Regions from separate parts of the Homo sapiens genome. Here region 2 is linked to region 1. The links are contacts of gene promoters, found by promoter capture Hi-C in blood cells and fetal thymus (Javierre and others, 2016). All regions are on one chromosome and are shown on one strand. Each heading gives the region's core, a stretch centred on a gene start or on the middle of the fragment in contact. The rest is flanking DNA. Distances are from core to core; before and after follow the strand shown.

Region 1 (3,605 bases), core at 1,089-3,588:
AGCCGGGAGAATGGCTTGAATCTGGGAGGCGGAGGTTGCAGTAAGCCGAGATAGTGCCACTGCACTCCGGCCTAGGCTGCTGAGCAAGACTCCATCTCAAAACAAAAACAAAAACAAAAATAAAACTTAGCCAGGCATGGTGGTGGAGGCCTGTAGTCCCAGCTACTTGGGAGGCTGAAGCAAGAGAATCTCTTGAACCCAGGAGGTGGAGGTTGCAGTGAGCCAAGATCGTGCAACTACACTCTAGCATGGGCAACAGAGTGAGACTCTGTCTCCAAAAAAAAGAAAAAAAATACATTAGAGGAGACTCCGTAAAATGTGATATCCAGACCTTAGGAGTATTCACATGACAGAATAGAGGAAATACATCATCAAACAATTCAAGAACATTGTTTAGAATTCAAGGGCATGGTTTCCAAATTAAAAGACACATTGGAGAGTCCAGTACAATGCAAATTTGGGCTCAACAATGCCAATTATCATTAAGTTTCAGAACACTAGAATAAGAAAATTTCGAATATGTTTTTAGAGAGGAAAGAATAGATCAAAACCAAGAAGCAGGCATCAGACTACTGGCTGCTAAAAGACGATGGAGCAACAGAGCAATGCCTCCAAGACTCTGAGGAAAAATTATGTCCAACCAATCAAGTGTGAGGGTAAAAACAAAGAAATTTTCAGACATCCAATCTCTTGAAATTTTTACTCTCCTCATACTTTTTATCTGGAAACTATTGGAACATGTGTTCCACCAAATGAGCCAAAAATGAGAAGATGTGAAATCAGGAAAAAGAATACCCAACTCGAAAGAACGGGGAAGGGAAACCCCAGAATGGTGGTGAAAGGCGATCAGATAAGAAGGCTCCAGAAGAGGTAGCACCAAGGAGATGAAACTGAATACATTGAGAGGAGATTTTCCACATACTATATTGTATTATGGAATTTCACTCTATGATTTCCATAAACTACAGCAAAGGCCATTTTTGAACTTCTTTTACTGCACACGTTAACAGTAGGAATTAAAATATTTTTTGAATAAATGAAAGAATGGAATACCTGAATTTGTACAGTACAGTATACACTTTGATAAGGGCTTTAGGCCAGGCACGGTGGCTCACGCCTGTAATCCCACACTTTAGGAGGCCGAGGCAGGTGGCTGGCTTGAGTTCCAGACCAGCCTGGCCAACATAGTGAAACCCCGTCTCCACTAAAAATACAAAAATTAGCCGGGCGTGGTGGCAGGTGCCCACAATCCCAGCTATTTGGGGGACTGAGGCAGGAGAATCGCTTGAACTCAGGAGGCGTAGGTTGCAGTGAGCTGAGATCGCGCCACTGCACTCCAGCCTGGGCAACAGAGTGAGACTCCGTCTCAAAAGAAAAAAAAAGGACTTTAAGGTAGATACAGAGGCTTCAGTATCCTGATGACTCTCATTCATTCTGTATGAACGATACTGGCGACACTGATTCACTCATCTACTTGAAGACCAAGAGCAGAATCATATTATGCTTTGAGAGGGGCACAGGGTAGCCTATTGTTAGGCAAATAGACCGCAGCAAGATTGTCTAAAACCAAATTCCATTTCATCATTTAGTATCTGTGTAACTTGGTCAAGTGACTTAACCTCTCTAACCTTTGATTCCCTAACTTGAAAATAGGGTTATTAATTCACAGGGTTACTGTGAGGATGGAACTAATGCCTGGGATTCCACATTATCATTTCCTCGAGCTTTGGAATTCTAATTATAAATTCTAAAGTCTGAGATTACGGAAAAGCAGATGTGAGAAAGGAATTAAAAGCACCCACTGGAAGCCAGGATGTCTCCTAGGAGGGACTTGCTATTACCTAGCTGCGCAGCAACAGGCAATCGCTTGCCTACAAGTCTCACTTTCCGCGCCTGCACAGTCTCCATCTGCCCTGCCCTTGTACTCACTGGGCCGGGCAAGCTGGGGAGGCCTAAGCGGACTGGGAAGTTAGGCTTTCCCTCCACTTCACCAGTCGGCTGCCCCTGCGGAAACCGGCCCGACACACCTCGCTCCTAAAGCCAGTTGCGGTGGTGGTGGCGGTTGGGGCTTTTTTTGGCCACGAGAGGGCAGCATTTCCCCCGGCCAACCACACACGTACCCCTAGCAACAGCAAACCCAGCTGCAACAGAACAAAAGACCGAAGTCCTCGAGCTTCCCTTCCATCTTAGGGCTCACGCCGCCCCGGTTAGGTTTCATTAGAGCAGCGGCTTTTCAAGGCTCGTCGGGCACGGAGGGCGGAGCGAGGGAGCTCTCGCGAGATCGCCGCCGGAAGTGGGTGGTGGCGGGGACGCAGCGGCTCCCTCCCGGAAAGCGAGCGTATCTCCCGAGCCGTTGCCACTGACAGCCGCGGGCGCTCCCATCTGAGTAAGAGCCAGCCCGTCCGCGGCCTCTCCAGCCCCGGGTTCGCGCTCTCGACTCTCCTGCCTGCCCAGCTGCGCGGCGGAGCGGAGCGAGGCGCGGCCTGCGAGTCCCCGGCAGCCCCCGACCCCTCCCTCGGCGCTGCGTGTAGGCCGCGCCCTCAGGCCCAGTCCGCGGTGCCCCGGCGGGTGATGCCAAATACAGCCATGAAGAAAAAGGTGCTGCTGATGGGGAAGAGCGGGTCGGGGAAGACCAGCATGAGGTCGATAATCTTCGCCAATTACATTGCTCGCGACACCCGGCGCCTGGGGGCCACCATTGACGTGGAACACTCCCACGTCCGATTCCTAGGGAACCTGGTGCTGAACCTGTGGGACTGTGGCGGTCAGGACACCTTCATGGAAAATTACTTCACCAGCCAGCGAGACAATATCTTCCGTAACGTGGAAGTTTTGATTTACGTGTTTGACGTGGAGAGCCGCGAACTGGAAAAGGACATGCATTATTACCAGTCGTGTCTGGAGGCCATCCTCCAGAACTCTCCTGACGCCAAAATCTTCTGCCTGGTGCACAAAATGGATCTGGTTCAGGAGGATCAGCGTGACCTGATTTTTAAAGAGCGAGAGGAAGACCTGAGGCGTCTGTCTCGCCCGCTGGAGTGTGCTTGTTTTCGAACGTCCATCTGGGATGAGACGCTCTACAAAGCCTGGTCCAGCATCGTCTACCAGCTGATTCCCAACGTTCAGCAGCTGGAGATGAACCTCAGGAATTTTGCCCAAATCATTGAGGCCGATGAAGTTCTGCTGTTCGAAAGAGCTACATTCTTGGTTATTTCCCACTACCAGTGCAAAGAGCAGCGCGACGTCCACCGGTTTGAGAAGATCAGCAACATCATCAAACAGTTCAAGCTGAGCTGCAGTAAATTGGCCGCTTCCTTCCAGAGCATGGAAGTTAGGAATTCCAACTTCGCTGCTTTCATCGACATCTTCACCTCAAATACGTACGTGATGGTGGTCATGTCAGATCCGTCGATCCCTTCTGCGGCCACTCTGATCAACATTCGCAATGCCCGGAAACACTTTGAGAAGCTGGAGAGAGTGGATGGCCCCAAGCACAGTCTCCTTATGCGTTGAATATTGCCAAATGCTCTTTCTGAAAATGCTGAATTGCCTTTTTTGTTTGCATCCTTTATTTTTAATATTCATAATGTCGTGTGCTTAAAAGT
Region 2 (3,592 bases), core at 491-2,990, 2.3 Mb after region 1:
CCTTTGAGGGCACTCAAGTGAAAGAATGTGCGCTTTTCATTTAATGATGCAACCTGCATCCATTTATTATACCGAGGATCAAATCTGAAAACTGTATCAACAGCAGTTTTTCCTTTTGTATCATAATTACTCTGACCACCAACTACATAAAGAAAGTTTCCAATGACAGCAATACCATGCTGGTAACGGGGAGCATCCATTGGGGCTAAAGATCTCCATTCTTGTGCCCTTTCATCATACATCCGTAATTCTTTACTGACAACCAGCTGCTGCCTCAAAACTCCTCCTAATGTAACCAAGTGAGTGGAGTCAGATCGAATGGCAGTTCTATCTGACTGCATCACTGGCTGCATATATGGCATCATTTGGTAATTGCTAGCTTCCAAAAGCAAATTCACGCAGGTATTGTCTGTTCTCATGAAATCTACTGTCTGCACGTAATTGATGAGATCCTGTGGTGTCATCAGTGGAAATCGAATATTCTTCATTAACTTTGCAGCATAATCCATCCGAGGGTCTTCCAACCTTAGCCAGCGACAGGCTGCCTTAAAGAGTTCAAGTTCGGTACAGTGCTTAAGACTATTACTGGAAAGCACAAATGCAAGTCGTTCAAAAGGGAGTTTTAGAAACTCCCCAGTACTCAATAAAGCAGGAAAGTTCTTCAGGATGAAATTATTAACATATTTATCCACTTCTATAAGATTGTAGGTGTTAGCAATTCGTCCAACCTCAACACAGTTATCCAAAGAGACTCCTGATATAAGAAATACTTTACAGAAATCCAAAACGGGTAATATTTGTAAAAAGCTAGCAGCTTCAAGTGTGTCCTGAAGATTGTCCATATTAAGAGAAAGTTTTGCAGTATAAATAAAATCAATGATTTTCTTCAGACCAACCTTGTTCACCCCATGAAGCTTAATGCACATCAAATCTTGTTCTTTCATTCCACCTGTGAACATGGCTTTGAAATAATCACTAGCAGACGCCATCATAGCTCTGTGAACAGGGAAGATTTCATCTCCATCACCTGGTACCAGGGTCACATCACAAAGCAATCCTTCTATTCTAAGCTGATCAAAGCCTTGCAATACCACCGAACTGTGAGTATTGCTGGTAAAAAAGCGTGTGGTTCCTGCCTTACAAGGCTGCAAATGGGCAGAGACGCCCATTTCGCCGTTACCAAGGGACACTTTCATGTGAAAGCTTTCCTCTTGCACAGAGATGCAAGCCGGATAAAGAAGTTATAACCGGAATGTTTTACAGGTAACGAGGTGTCCAGAAAGAACAGAAAGCTCGTTTCCTTATCAAGGGAAGGCAGTCACTGCGGCACCCCTCGGGCCACGCCAGTCAGTCATCCACTGAAAATCACCCTGTAGCAGGACCACAAAGGGCTGTGGACCTCAAATCTGATTATTAGACAGATGATTCATCACCTGAAGGCGGTTAAATGACCTGGTTCACCTCGTCCGGCCTGCGCTGCCGCTCCTTCAGCAGTTCCGCTTCGGGCAAGGAAGAGGCGCCGCCACGTACTGTGGCTCCACGGCCCGCTCGGCGGCGGGTCCGGACACCTCAGCGAACGGCCCGCTGCGCCCTCCGCTGTACCTAGAGTGTCGCAGCGGCCACCGGCCTGTCTTTGAGCAAGGGCCGGGAACACAGGCCTGGGCCTGGGCTTGGGCCTAGAATACCGGCCTAGCCCCAACACCGAGCCGCTCCTTCCGGAAAAGCCTAGTCCCAGGATACCACGGGGTGGGAGCGGCCTTAGCGGCTACTGCGGCTGCGCGGCCTCCAGACCTCGTCAGTCAGCGGGAGGGTGGGGGTGGGGAAGGGGGAGGAAGTACCCGGGAGGCGGGAGGGCGAGGGTTGGGGAAGCGGAGCTGTGTGGGGTGGGCGCCAGCCCGGCCTCTTAGAGCTGCCTTGTATGTGGGACCAAATAGGACAGAATGTGTGCAAGCAAGTGTGTTATGCTGCACGTTTGATATAAGTTTTTCGCATATCTGAGCTCTTACGTTCCCCAAATGCATAATTTTTCAAAGCTTTACGCTTCCTAGCTTCTGTTTTTTTGAATAACAGTGAAATGCGGCATTTGTATAAATTGAGAGGAAACCTGGATGCTTAATTTTTTTTTTCCTCTACAAAACAATAATTGTTATCCCACATTATGTAGTAGATACTTCAGTTACAATTTTGGTTCATATTTTCAAATTTGTTACAATTTCAAACGCAAAATATTTGTCTTTACTAGATTGTTACTTTATTATGTAAATGATATATTCTAAATTTTTGGCTTGAAATGCCTTTGTTTTCCACAATTTTAAAAATGGCTACATAATTTTCCAATAACTATACATACTATAGTTTCCTTTGCCCATTGGTTTGTTCCTGAATGTGTACCTTCTTATCCTCCATTGTTTTATAGACTCGGTAGTAAACTTATACAATCTGGTAGCAAAATTTTAGCCCTGTTATGGATAATATTTAGTAAAATACTGATCCAAGACAATATTTCCAAAATATTATCACCAACAATGTTTGTGTCTTTCCCTTCTTCTGACTTTTCCCTTTGTGAGTATTTTATTAACTTGCATTTCTTTAATTAGTGGTAAATTTAAATTTTGACATACAAATAAATGTATACTTTGACACAATTTCTTCCATTTTCCAAATTTTGAAGTTTCTGTCTTTTAAATCCTTCTAGTTCTTTATGCATATGCAAAGTAAGAATGTAGTCATGTTTTTCTTACACTCGCCTCGTTTTTATGTAAAAGATAGCATACCATGTACACTGTTCTGCATCTTTTTTTTTCACTTCAAGATCTTCCTGAATTAGTGTAGAGGGCTTATTTATATTTTTAAACAATTCTGTTGTTGCCTTCTGAGTTGTTACATCATAAGTTATTTAACCAGTGCCCTGTTGATGGGCAGTTCATCTGTTTTGAATGTTTTCTATTGTTTCCAAGGGATGGCAGCAAAATTCAGAAGGCTTAGACTACCACTGTCCTCCACAAGGTGCTCCAGCAGATTGTCACCTTATTCAACACAAGAGGTTGGTTGGAATGAAACTGGCCTGGAGAAATTATTCACTGAATTTTTATCAGCATTGGGAAGTCCTGGAGCCCTGCTTGTTGAATGAGTTAGGGGTGGAAGGGCTCTCTCAGGCCATGACAACTCCCTAATGCTGTGAAGAGCTACTTCCAAGGAATCAGTCTCTATCTGGAAAAGAAAGAAGAGAGCCTCTGTACATGGGAAGTTGGAGCAAGAAATCATGAGATCCTTCTTTTTTTCATCAAACTTGCAAGTAAGATTAATAGCTTAGGAACAGACTTGTGTCTTCATGAAATGATTACTATAGACACTCTTCATTATATTCCCATATGTTTAGTTATTTTAAAAGACTATCTTTTCTGCCTGCATAATGAAATGATTGAATCAAATTTGTCACAATACTTGTTGGTAATGTCAAGCAACTGTATGATAAAGCATCCAGTTCTTAGGGGCATTAGCTCACCATGGATGATATTATTAATTTACCCATGTACTTAATTATTGATTCTACTACATTTATTGTATTCAGTATTTTTGCTTGTATGAAATG

Evidence for each region. The method cuts DNA at HindIII sites, captures the fragments that hold promoters and counts their contacts. A CHiCAGO score of 5 or more calls a contact.
Region 2: a contact is called between the fragment with the promoter of KLHL9 here and the fragment with the promoter of RRAGA in region 1, in 1 of 17 cell types (M2 macrophages). The highest score is 5.4, in M2 macrophages.

The regions. Positions count from the first base shown.
Region 1 is chr9:19,047,089-19,050,693 of GRCh38, forward strand. RRAGA (Ras related GTP binding A) reads left to right here and starts at 2,339. Exons shown (of 1, transcript NM_006570.5): 1 at 2,339-3,605. The coding sequence starts at 2,572. The coding sequence ends at 3,513. It also overlaps a transcript of SAXO1 not described here. RefSeq lists an enhancer at 2,279-2,800 and a silencer at 2,408-2,597. The HindIII fragment of the contact is 15,757 bases long and covers 1-3,605 here.
Region 2 is chr9:21,333,664-21,337,255 of GRCh38, forward strand. It overlaps KLHL9 (kelch like family member 9), which reads right to left and starts at 1,741. Exons shown (of 1, transcript NM_018847.4): 1 at 1-1,741. The coding sequence starts at 1,196. It overlaps LOC107987053 (a long non-coding RNA gene), which reads left to right. Exons shown (of 3, transcript XR_001746634.2): 3 at 2,958-3,592. RefSeq lists enhancers at 1,171-1,220, 1,411-1,720 and a silencer at 1,761-1,930. The HindIII fragment of the contact is 830 bases long and covers 1,202-2,031 here.